Regions from separate parts of the Homo sapiens genome. Here all the other regions are linked to region 3. The links are contacts of gene promoters, found by promoter capture Hi-C in human tissues and cell types (Jung and others, 2019). All regions are on one chromosome and are shown on one strand. The core of a region is centred on a gene start or on the middle of the fragment in contact, and the rest is flanking DNA. Distances in the headings are between cores, read along the strand shown.

Evidence for each region. Contacts are between HindIII fragments. The study calls those that stand out against the background at their distance.
Region 1: a contact is called between a fragment that was not itself captured here and the fragment with the promoter of NOP14 in region 3, in 2 of the 25 tissues and cell types used here (H1 embryonic stem cells and lymphoblastoid cells).
Region 2: a contact is called between a fragment that was not itself captured here and the fragment with the promoter of NOP14 in region 3, in 3 of the 25 tissues and cell types used here (aorta, lymphoblastoid cells and mesendoderm cells).

Annotation. Positions count from the first base shown.
Region 1 is chr4:3,214,341-3,218,760 of GRCh38, forward strand. HTT (huntingtin) reads left to right here. Exons shown (of 67, transcript NM_001388492.1): 51 at 770-871; 52 at 3,425-3,612. Among named protein-coding and RNA genes, the nearest start is that of MSANTD1, 33 kb to the right of the region's middle. RefSeq lists an enhancer at 1-112. The HindIII fragment of the contact is 5,430 bases long and covers 1-4,092 here.
Region 2 is chr4:3,091,086-3,095,169 of GRCh38, forward strand. All of the region lies in intron 2 of HTT (huntingtin), which reads left to right. Among named protein-coding and RNA genes, the nearest start is that of HTT, 18 kb to the left of the region's middle. The HindIII fragment of the contact is 5,503 bases long and covers 1-4,084 here.
Region 3 is chr4:2,961,407-2,965,333 of GRCh38, forward strand. It overlaps NOP14 (NOP14 nucleolar protein), which reads right to left and starts at 2,000. Exons shown (of 18, transcript NM_001291978.2): 1 at 1,719-2,000. The coding sequence starts at 1,913. It overlaps GRK4 (G protein-coupled receptor kinase 4), which reads left to right and starts at 2,165. Exons shown (of 16, transcript NM_182982.3): 1 at 2,165-2,716. The coding sequence starts at 2,665. RefSeq lists enhancers at 558-627, 1,658-2,191, 2,192-2,725 and silencers at 2,188-2,617, 2,788-2,837. The HindIII fragment of the contact is 12,457 bases long and covers 1-3,927 here.

The DNA of each region.
Region 1 (4,420 bases), core at 128-2,627, 250 kb after region 3:
TTTTTAGTCATTTTATTTAGATTTTGAAGTTTCAGCTTTCATCAAAAATACCTCTAAACTTTATGTCTCTGTGATCTTTGGTCTTAGCTGTTTTATGTATTTAGTCTTATATGATCATAAGATTAATAACATTACATTCAGAAGATTATTTGTTTTCTGTCAGAGTTAAAATGTTTGTTTTTATACTGCATTGTAATATTAACGTACTGTAAAATAAAAGTGGCTTGTTCTTTTCAAGGAACAGTATCCTCAACAAGGGTCATTAGCCACAATTTTTAAAAAATTGGACGTCATAGTTTACATGTTAGAGGGCGTTTTGAAGCTTTGTATTTTTAAATTAAATGTTATAGAGTGATGTTTTCATGTTTCATAATTGTTTTCATCTGTGCATTTGTAGCCAACTTGAAAACAAAGATCCAGGGATTACTACTTAAAAGCCAGACTTCTTGGAGGTTATAGTGATGATTTTGATAGTATCTTGAGCCGTCTCATAATAACCTCAGGGTGAGAGATGGCCAACAGGAGACAGTCGAGGGACTTAGAAATCTGAATGAAATCTGAAGTTCAAATCTTCAGACATATACCACTAACCAAGAGATTGGTACCTCAGTCTAGTATTGTCTGTTTGTCTAAAATTGGTTCTAAGGAATCTAGGCTAGTCTGTCTATCCCTTTCAACTTTTGTGAGGCTGCACAAATGTAAAATGTTGAATAAAAAGCACTGATGGAAGTGTGTAGAAATTCTTCTCTTTGTTCTGTTGTAATTTTAGTTGCAGTGCAGCCTGGAGAGCAGCTTCTTAGTCCAGAAAGAAGGACAAATACCCCAAAAGCCATCAGCGAGGAGGAGGAGGAAGTAGATCCAAACACACAGAGTAAGTCTCAGGACCCATTTTTTTCTTACATGTTGTTCCTCCAGGACTTAAAAATCATTCACAGAGACGTGCACCGCGGTGAGTGTGGACTCCTGGAAGCGCACCGTAGCTCCGCTGTGTCCTGCTGCTCCTCCCTAGCTGTCAGGGAGGCTGTAGTCCATTGCTTTGCCAGCTCTTTTGTTTCCGAGTGAACACCTTATCCGTACACATGCGGCTGTCTCTGACCCTACAGACCAGCTGGGATGCCACTGGGGGAGCGCTCCCTTCCCCCCGCACTTCCCACACTCTGCAGTTATTCTGAGATCCTTGAGGGCAGGGAACAGGTTTGTCTTCTTTGTGTTCTCAGAAATTAATGCTCGGCCTCTGGTCAGCAAGCAACAACCTTTTGTTGAGTGATAATGAATAAATAAATGTTTCCCACATGAGTATTCAGTAACCTCAGTGTCAGGTTCAGCCATCTGTTTTGGTGGATATTTAAAAGAAAATTCCGCTTTTCCTACAGAAAAAAAAAAAAATCCAAATCCCAGTGATTTAAGCCAGTTATAGACTTAGACATATACTACGGCTTTTCATGCACTTTCCTCCCAATTCTAGAGTAGGTATTTTACTAGGAAAATGGTGGCAGTGCCTGTTGGGAGGAAGATTCTTTGGCCAAGTGTCTTTTGTTCTTGCCAGGGCCCCTAGGCTGCTGGGGTGCTTCAGCTTCTTTAGCCCAGTGTCTGGTGGGGAATGGCCCCTGTTGCCTGTCCCACAGAGGTGGGGGTGCCTCACCTGGAGCCTGTCCACACATTTTACACAGCACGCTTACCTGGAGCATCAGGCATCTTTTCCATGCTCTGTGGCTCAGGAAACACGCCTTTTCAATCATGAGTGCACCAGTGCTTTTGGGCTTTTTCTCCCCGCTTTTGTGCAATCCTGGTTGTGGATGGAGTTTTCCTGTCTTTAGTCTTCTGCATAGTACTTTTCTCTTCTGGTTCCCGGTTCAAGGTTTTGTAATTAGAGAATGACCCAGAAGCAATGGCATTTTAATGCACAGCCAAGGACTTCTCTGAATTTGTATCTCAAACCTCTGTGGGTCCTTCAGGCTTCAGTTTGTGATTTCATGATTTCTTGTTGCTACCTAAGGAATATGAAAACACCCACCTCCCTACTCTGCATCTTCCAGCCGAGTGGCACCTCAGGCTGTGGATCCTGTGCTTCTGTGGTGAGGATAAGAATAGTGCCAACCGTGTGGATTGAAATCAATCAGTTAATCCCTCCATGTAAAGCACCTGGAACGGATGACAGTCTTGTTATGAATACTCAACAAATGCTATCATGATTTTTAGTTAGATTTCCATTGCTTTAAAACAGTTGAGACATCTTGGCGGTTTGAGTTAGAGCAACGGGCCCTGAAGTGGGTTCTGTTTGGGTGAAGATGATTATGCTTATTCCCCATGGCCCTCTTTAGGCAAGAGTGGGAAGCTTTCTTTGTTTTTTTAATCACCTCGATAGGACGTTACTTCTTAAAGGTCATCCAATAAATATTAATAGGCCGGGCGCGGTGGCTCACGCCTGTAATCCCAGCACTTTGGGAGGCCGAGGCGGGCGGATCACGAGGTCAGGAGATCGAGACCATCCCAGCTAAAACGGTGAAACCCCGTCTCTACTAAAAATACAAAAAATTAGCCGGGCGTAGTGGCGGGCGCCTGTAGTCCCAGCTACTTGGGAGGCTGAGGCAGGAGAATGGCGTGAACCCGGGAGGCGGAGCTTGCAGTGAGCCGAGATCCCGCCACTGCACTCCAGCCTGGGCGACAGAGCAAGACTCCGTCTCAAAAAAAAAAAAAAATATTAATAAAGCCAACTCGTTAGCGTGGGGCTTAATTGCTTAAGTCCAATGAGAAGTCCTTCTCTATCCTAGGAAGTTGCCCAAACTGTAGAATCTCGTGGCCTGTGGGTAATAGCCACGTAATACACACTCACTGCCTCAACAAATCATATTTTAGTAGGTATGATATTCTAGACTCAAGACACCATTCTGTGGATCTTCCCAAGGGTGTGAAGTGTCCACAGCGTCTGCCTTGGGAGTTTCCATGCCCACCAGAACCATGCCCCAAGCCCCTCAAGCACTCTGACCTAGGAAAGCCAGTGAAGCAAGGATGACAACATGGCCCTTTGATACTAGCTGAGGGACAGACACAGGTCCTGGGAGACCAGAGAAAGACGAGGGGCAGAGGAGGTGTCCTAAAGGAAGTCTGAGGCTGAGGAGCCACAGGATGGCTTCCAGCTGTCACAGGCTGCTGCTGGCCTTATCACAGAGAGTGGGCCAGAGGGCTGGGAACCAAGGCCAGAGCTCAGGTTCAGGACCATTCCAGCAATCCCAGCAGAAAATGGGGAGAATTGTATGGTATAGGCGGATATGAAGGTAGAATCTGCAGGCCTTCAGTGGCCAACTCAGAGTCTAAGTGGATTCCACAGTTACAGCTTGAGCAGCTGGTTGTAGGTCATGCTTTCTACACTGGGCATATAGGATGTGTTTTTTAAAAAGTCCTCTCTTAACCGTTGCTTGTTTAGATCCTAAGTATATCACTGCAGCCTGTGAGATGGTGGCAGAAATGGTGGAGTCTCTGCAGTCGGTGTTGGCCTTGGGTCATAAAAGGAATAGCGGCGTGCCGGCGTTTCTCACGCCATTGCTAAGGAACATCATCATCAGCCTGGCCCGCCTGCCCCTTGTCAACAGCTACACACGTGTGCCCCCACTGGTGAGTCTGCTCGTTCCTTGCAGAAGACCAAGTACGGTGAAAGGCACCGGTAGGCCCTGGGCTGGGCACACGTGAGAGGGCGGGACAGAATCCCCGCAGCCCAGAGGCTGCCTGCTGTGGTTCTGGTGCCCACTGTGGTTCTGGTGCCAGGCTGCTTTCCTCAGGCACCACGTGTGGAGGTCGCTAGTAGAAATACTGGGTTTTCTAAAATGAACTGAGGCCCTACATCCCTAAGAGATTAGTGTTAGACCTGATTCTAGAGCAACTAGACCACTTTGCTTAATAGCAGACCAGAAACCACACCCCCTCGAGTGAGTGAGATTTTCCTTTGGAGATAATTCATGTTTTTCTACACAGTTTTGCAGTTGTCTTCAGAATTGGTTTAAAGTAGGTGTTATTGCCAGGCGCAGTAGCTCATGCCTGTAATCCCAGCACTTTGGGAAGCCAAGGTGGGCGGATCACTTGAGGTCAGGATTTCGAGACCAGCCTGGCCAACATGGTGAAACCCCATCTCTACTAAAAATATAAAAATTAGCCAGGTGTGGTGGTGTACGCCTGTAATCCCAGCTACTCAGGAGACTGAGACAGGAGAATCGCTTGAACCCAGGAGGCGAAGGTTGCAGTAAGCCGAGATCGCGCCACTGCACTCTAGCCTGGGCAACAGAGCAAGACTCCGTCTCAAAAAAAAAAAAGGTAGGTGTTATTGATCAGAACCCTTGTTTCAGATAACATGAGGAGCTTAGCTTGAGGAGAGTGAGGGTTGATGGAGGGGGACTGACTTCTGCCCAGTGAAATGGCATCATCTCCC
Region 2 (4,084 bases), core at 1,177-3,676, 130 kb after region 3:
TGGGCGACAAGAGCAAAATTCTGTCTCAAGAAAAAAGAGAAAAAAGAAAAAGAAATCAACACTAATATGGTGAGACTTAATGTATGTGACATTAAAATAGTGATTGGATGTTAAAACAGGTATAGAACAGAAAGAAGAGTGTATGTGTGTATCTGTATGAATTTATGATGGGTGTAACATATATGTATTAGGGAAATGAGGGAAATGATACATTTCTCTGACTTTGGGAGAACATTATATCTCTACCTCATATTGCAAACAAACATAAAGTTCAGATTAATTACCTAAATGTGAAAAAATGAAATAATTTCTTTAAAAAATGTAATCTTAGTTTGAGGAAGGTTAACATTATAAAGGAAAAAACTGTTTTGAGTGGAATATAGTTCAATATGTCAAAATCCACCTTCAACAAAATTGAAAGTAAATTGAACTTGGGGAAAGTATTGACAGCATATAGATCAAAGGTTACTAGCCTGTGTAAAGAGCAGTTATAAATATCGTTAAGAAAAACACTGTCGACCTGTCGGCACCTTGTTCTCCGACTCCCAGCCTCCAGAACTGTGACGAGTAAGTGCTTATTGTTTAAACCACCCAGTCTGTATGTGGTATTTTGTTATAGAAACTCAAGCTGATTAGGACACTAGTAATCAGTAGACTGAAACTGAAACAAAAATAAGAACCTTTTTTACCTGTCAAATTGGCAAACATTAAGAATATTCAGATTTTTGTCAGAGGTGATACAACCTTCTAAGAAGGCAATTTGGGAAAATATAAAGCTTTAGATTATTATATGTCTGACCTAGCAGTTTTACCTCTAGGGTGCTTACCCCTAGGAAAGTGTGTAATGATATTGGTGCAGTGCCCTTCATCCCATTAGAAAATTAAAAATAACCTTAATGGCCTACCACTAAAAGGGGATTGAAAATTTAAGATATATTTATTTATGTGTTTATTGAGATGGAGTCTTGCACTGTCCGCCTGGGCCAGAGTGCAATGGTGCGATCTCGGCTCACTGCAACCTCTGCTTCCCGGGTTCATGTGATTCTCCTGCCTCAGCCTCCTGAGTAGCTGGGATTACAGGCTCACACCACCGCACCCGGCTAATTTTTTGTATTTTTAGTAGAGATGGGGTTTCACTGTGTTGGCCAGACTGGTCTCGAACTCCTGACCTCATGATCCGCGCCCCTCGGCCTCCCAGTGTTGGGATTACAGGTGTGAGCCACTGCGCCTGGCCAGATACATTTATACAAGAGAATGTTAGTTAACATTCATAGATATTTATATTTTGTTTACTTTTTATTAAAAAAATTTTTTTTAGAGACAGGATCTTACTCTGTCACCCAGGCAGGATGCAGTTGCACAATCATAGCCCACTGCAGCCTGAACTCCTGGGCTTAAGTGATCCTTCTGCCTCAGCCTTTTGAGTACCTGGGGGACTTTAGGCAGTGCTACTATACCTGGCTAATTTTTAAATGTTTTATAGATGAGATCTTGCTGTATTGCCCAGGCTGGTCTAGAATTCCTGGGCCCAAGTGATCCTCCCACCTTGGCCTCCCAAAGCGCTGAGATTACAGGCATGAGCCACCACTTCTGACCAATAGATATTTATATTTGTGACTGGAAAATATATTAACAATGTGTTAAAAAATTCAGTTAAAAAATAATGAAAGATTTTTGCTTCTGGCTAAGATAGAATAACAAGGACAGCATTTATCTTCTTGCCTTGAAATAGTTGAAAACGGAAGAAATATATGTAACAGTGGTTTTCAAGTTATTGGGCATCAGGCAAAGAAGAATAGTTATCCCAGGAAAATGAATGTGGAGAGCCCTACAATTTCCTTACATTACTGCCTGGTCATGGCAAGAGGAAAAACTGAGAGGAGACTGAGGCTGAGCCAGTGGTTTGCTGGGTTGAGGAGGCAGAGCTGGGAGTGCAGAGATGCAAGGTGGTGAGAGCCCATATGGAAGAATACCAGGGAAGAGAGCTGCAGAGGGAGCTCCGGAGACCTGCACCCTGCCCTCTCAGTACCCTGTCATGTGTGTAGCTGAGTACTGACGAGCACTTGCTTGTGCGGAAATGACCCAGGGCTGGAGGTAGAGCCACCTGAAAGGATTAGAAGGAACAGTTGCTGAAAGTCACACAGGGCCAGGAAGAATTTCTAATCACACCAGTTGGAGTGGAAAACCTCAGCTCTCATAGAGCAGGTAGGGTACTCAGAAGGGTTTGCCCACCTAGCCCCAGACTAAGTTTCGTTACTCTGACCCTACCTAATATTAAAAAGAGATTAATTAAATTGTTCGCAACAAAAATAATATATTTCAGTGTTTGTAACACGTAGAAGTGAATTGTATGACAATAGCATAAAGGCTGGAAGAGCAGAAATTGACATGTATTTGCGCTGGGCAGAATAATGCTCCCCTCTTTCCCCAAAAGATATCAAGTCCTAATCCCTGGAGCCTGTAAATATTACTTTATATGGAAAATTGTTTTATGATGTGATTAAATTCAGGATCTTGAGATGAGGGGGCTATCTTGGATGATCTGGGTAGGCACTAAATGCAATCACATATATATAAAAAGGAGGCAGAGGGAGATTTTACACACAGAGAGAAGGCCCTGTGAAGATGGAACAGAAAGATTTGAAGGTGCTGGCCTTGAAAATTGGAGTGATGAAGCTATAAGCCAAGGAATGCAGCAGCCACCAAAGCTGGAAGAGGCACGGAGCAGTTCTCATTTAGAGCCTACTCCAGAGGGAATGTGGTGCTGCCAATTCCTTTTTTTTTTTTTTTTTTAAGATATCATTTACCCCTTTAAGTTGGTTTTTTTTTTTTTTTTTTTTTTTTAGTATTTATTGATCATTCTTGGGTGTTTCTTGGAGAGGGGGATTTGGCAGGGTCATAGGACAATAGTGGAGGGAAGGTCAGCAGATAAACATGTAAACAAAGGTCTCTGGTTTTCCTAGGCAGAGGGCCCTGCCACGTTCTGCAGTGTTTGTGTCCCTGGGTACTTGAGATTAGGGAGTGGTGATGACTCTTAACGAGTATGCTGCCTTCAAGCATCTGTTTAACAAAGCACATCTTGCACCGCCCTTAATCCATTTAACCCTTAGTGGACACAGCACATGTTTCAGAGAGCACGGGGTTGGGGGTAAGGTTATAGATTAACAGCATCCCAAGGCAGAAGAATTTTTCTTAGTACAGAACAAAATGGAGTGTCCTATGTCTACTTCTTTCTACGCAGACACAGTAACAATCTGATCTCTCTTTCTTTTCCCACATTTCCTCCTTTTCTATTCGACAAAACTGCCACCGTCATCATGGACTGTTCTCAATGAGCTATTGGGTACACCTCCCAGATGGGGTGGCGGCCGGGCAGAGGGGCTCCTCACTTCCCAGATGGGGCGGCCGGGCAGAGGCGCCCCCCAACCTCCCAGACGGGGCGGCGGCTGGGCGGGGGCTGCCCCCCACCTCCCGGACGGGGCGGGTGGCCGGGCGGGGGCTGCCCACCACCTCCCGGACGGGGCGGCTGGCCGGGCGGGGGCTGCCCCCCACCTCCCGGACGGGGCGGGTGGCCGGGCGGGGGCTGCCCCCCACCTCCCGGACGGGGCGGCTGGCCGGGCGGGGGCTGCCCCCCACCTCCCGGACGGAGCGGCTGCCGGGCGGAGGGGCTCCTCACTTCCCGGACGGGGCGGCTGCTGGGCGGAGGGGCTCCTCACTTCTCAGACGGGGCGGCTGGTCAGAGACGCTCCTCACCTCCCAGACGGGGTGGCAGTGGGGCAGAGACATTCTTAAGTTCCCAGACGGAGTCACGGCCGGGCAGAGGTGCTCTTCACATCTCAGACGGGGCGGCGGGGCAGAGGTGCTCCCCACTTCCCAGACGATGGGCGGCCGGGCAGAGATGCTCCTCACTTCCTAGATGGGATGACAGCCGGGAAGAGGCGCTCCTCACTTCCCAGACTGGGCAGCCAGGCAGAGGGGCTCCTCACATCCCAGACGATGGGCGGCCAGGCAGAAACGCTCCTCACTTCCTAGACGGGGTGGCGGCTGGGCAGAGGCCGCAATCTTGGCACTTTGGGAGGCCAAG
Region 3 (3,927 bases), core at 750-3,249:
GGGGCTGCCCTCTTCCTGCCAGACTGAGTGCCTCAGAGTGCTACAACTGACCAGAGGGGAGAAGCCAACTGAGGCAGCCTGTTTACTTCTAAGGGACTAACCCACATGAAAAGACCCAGGCCTCCTGCGCCGGCCTCACGGCCCCTACACGCGTTATCAAGCTTGGAGTCAACTGGACGACCTGCTGTCCCTCAGACAGCTGTGAGTGCCACACTTCACCATACCGGGACAATGTGCCTTTGCATGTGTGTCCTCTGCCCACCCTGGGCCCATGAACAGCTCACTCCCCTTGCAAAACTTGACTGTAACTCCCTCTAGAAGAATTTTTGGACTTTCCTAACTATTACACTTTTTCCTGACCGGGATCTCCTAAGGCACTCAGGTTCCATCTTTGATTTCTTCAAATATTTGTGTTTCTTCCAAGGGCCAAGCATTGGAGATCCAAAAAGGAGCAGCAATTCCCGTCCCCGTCCCAGGCCTTCAGCACAGGGCAGGGAGGTGGATCTGCTCAATACCAGAAGTTTGAGCAACCTGTCCTATTTGGGTTACATAGCTTGGGTGGTGAACCTGAGCTGGCCCTTTAGAGACTTTCGGAGGTAAGGCAGACCTTTTGGACAAACTGAGTTGCAAGAGGCGAAGCAAGGACAACAGCCAGACTGTGCGGGACTCGAACGACAAGCCAAGAAGGTTAAGAATAACAGTATTTAGAGAACACTTGCTGTGTGCTCTATGTGCTATCTTACTTAATTCTCACAAACCACCACGAGGGGTAGGATGTATACTATCATCTCTACTTTTGAAATGAGAAAACTGAGGCTTCAGTGGTGAAGACAAATGTGTCTCTTCTAGGGAACCACACTACCTTATTCTCCCACCCCGGCCCGGGGGTGTGTAATGAGGGACTCCTATCGAAGTCAGCTGTAAGTCTATCTTGCCTATTCATTATACAGGCTGTCGTCTTCGCGCAGTAAGGATAATATGTGTTTTGATTCAAAGACCATCCAGCTTGCACACTGTGATGAACAGAGATCAGGAGCTCATGAAGGCAAGGGCAAGTCTTATTTACCTTTATCTCCCCGAACCTAGAAGCGAGGTCAAACAGAAGCGCTCGGGGTAGCAAGAAGGCTTTGTAGATATTGAAATGTGAATGCATGCCCAGCCCTTACCAGGTGCGTGACCTTAGGAAATGCACTTGTCCTTTCTGTGCCTTAATTTTTTCACCAACCTGCTAATGTATGTTCCTCAGTGAAAATTTAAAAAAAAAAAAGTTAAAAAAACTAGGAAGCAATGAGTTTCCATAGAGTTACTTCCCAAGGAACAAGGTTACGCGCTTCGGGAGAGAGCCGATGAAACATCAAACGCAGCATCCTACACAGCCCCTATCCACCGTCCCCAAACCTGCAGAGCTCAAAGTAAACGCGGAAGGGTTAACAAGCAGCTTGGTCCAGGGCGCCGCCCGAAGTGACTGACTCGGCCTGACCCGGTTGGAGGAGTCGCCGAAATAACACGAGTGCAGGGTCTCCAAGACGGCGAGAGTTTCCAGGTCACTCCAGCTCAGAGAACAGCAGAGGCTTTCGGACTATCAAGTCAGTGCCGTGTGCCTGTCACGGCCTGTGCCGCTCAACGAGGAAACCGACGCACCGAGAAGGACGCAGCCGGCCGAGAGCAGCGTGGGGTCCAGATCCTGCCTTCCGGCTCCCCGTGCGCCCCCCGCTTACCTTCCTGAGGGCCCGTGCGCGAGACACCCCGGGCAGTCCCACGTCGTGGCGCGTCTTCCGGCCCAGGATCTGGAACTTCTGCCTGTTAACTTTCACCTCGAACGGATTGGAGTTGGCCTTCGCCGGGCCCCCTCGCGCTCCCGCCGGCGCCCCGGAGGCCTTCCTTCGCGCCCCGACCTTCTTCGCCTTCGCCATGGCGCGCGCCCCGCTGCGCCCAAGGGCCCGAGACCCGAAGAGAGACAGGCGCGCGCTACCCTAAGACACGTGCCGGGCCGCGGAACCGCTTCCTCGTCTCGCGAGAACAGCGCAGCACCTCCGACTCGCGAGAAGTAAACACCGCGCCCGCAGGCTCGGCTTACTCGCCGATAGGCTCAGCGACTACAACTCCCAGCAGGCCACGCGCCGCGGCCCGCCGTGTACTCTTGGCGCAGGGCCTTCTGGGAGCTGTAGTGCCCCGGCCGCGGCGGCGAGGGGCGCTCCCTCTTCAGCTAAGCCGTTAGCGCCGAGCCCGCCCGGGAGCGGGTCGCCGGCCGCGGCGGGCGCCCCTGCCAGTGAGCCCCTGTCCGAAGTGAGCCACGGCATTGACTCGGGGCTGCCCGGGGGCAGGGCACTGAGGAGGGAGTTGCGCGCGCGAGGCGAGGGCGATGGGGCCAAGAAGAACCGGGGCGATAGCGCGGCAGCGGTGACAGCTGGGACCCGCCGCGGTCGGGCTGCCCCCTCCCCTCGCCCCGACCGCTCCCCTGCTGGTGAGGGCCTGCGGAGGCGGCGGCGGCGGCGCCCTTGGTGGCAGTGGTGGCGGCGGAGCAGCCTCCCGGGATCGTGTCCGGAGCTCGAGGAGAGGGTGGTGCCCGGCGAGCTATGCACGGGGGCGGCGGCGTCTCCTCCTGTTCCGCCTCCTCAGTCTCCTCGGTCTCGCAGAATCCGCCGGCGGCGGCGGCGCCAGGACATGGAGCTCGAGAACATCGTGGCCAACTCGCTGCTGCTGAAAGCGCGTCAAGGTGGGTGCGCGGCAGGCGCCCCCGACCCCCCCCCCAGAGAACCCCGAATCCCGGGGAACCCTGGCCCCCCTGAAGGAACCCGACATCCCCGGAGAACCCCGATTTCCCTGGAGAGCCCCGACACCTCCCACTGGGGGAACCCAGATCTGCACGGAGCCGGAGCCGGGGTCTGTGCAGTGTGGTCAGGCTGCCCGGGCCAGGTCCCAGTCCCCATCTCCTGGCCCAGATGAGAGAAGTCTGCGCTTTGCTCTTCTTAGTCTTGCCCTGTGTCCTTGTCCTGTCCTCTCGGTGTGACCTCGGTGACAGTGTTGCTTCAGGATGCGGCAGGCAGTGTCCTGCTTGTGTTGGACAACCTGTCCCACCAAAAAAGAACGGCGTCTTTATGGTCTTAAGGGGGACAAAGAATAGCAGCCTGGGAACTACTCTGGGCGAGAACCTTCCGATAATGATTGTAGGGCAATGTTATTTTTAACATAGCTGCTTGGTTTTGAGGTTTGATCTGAGGCTCTATGGTGTGTCAAGTGTGCTTTAGCACGACGTGGTCACAGATGGACAAGTTGGCAAAAATTCAGCCTTTTATCATTATTAAAGTGAGGCAGAAATTTAAAAATAGTAATAAGTACTGCATTCATTCACTCCAAGAAAAGAAAAAGCCAAGGCCCAGAATGTGGCAAGGCAAGGGTTAAAAAGAAAAGAAGAACAAGTTTTCTTTTGCTTAGCAAGCTCACTTTAAGGACAGTTATAAGATAACGCTGTTCTGTTTGAGAAGTCGAATCCAAAGGAATAGGCTCCAGACACCCCCCTTCCAGAGCAGGGGTGAAGAAAAAAAAAAAAGAGGACAAATATCTGTGTTTAGCCAGTTCTTGGTTTTTTCTTTCAACGCAGCTACAAGGCCACCAGCTATGCAAGGCCACAAGTTATGCCAAGTCATCAGTTATGCTATAGATTATGTGACCTGTCATTATATGATTAACTGCCTTTGTTTTGCTTCTGTAAGTTTGCTTATAAAAATCCTGCTTAGTCTTTGTTCAAGGCTCAGCTTTTTGGATGTGAATCCACTGAGCTGGTGCGTACCTTAACATAAATATCCTCCTGTTTTCACCCATGCTGGTCTCTCTAGTCCTCTGCATCCCGCCACAAAAGCATCAGTTGGTCCAGCCCTTCAGCGGGAGACCCCCACAATCCTCTGTGCAATCCTCTGTCTCGGACCT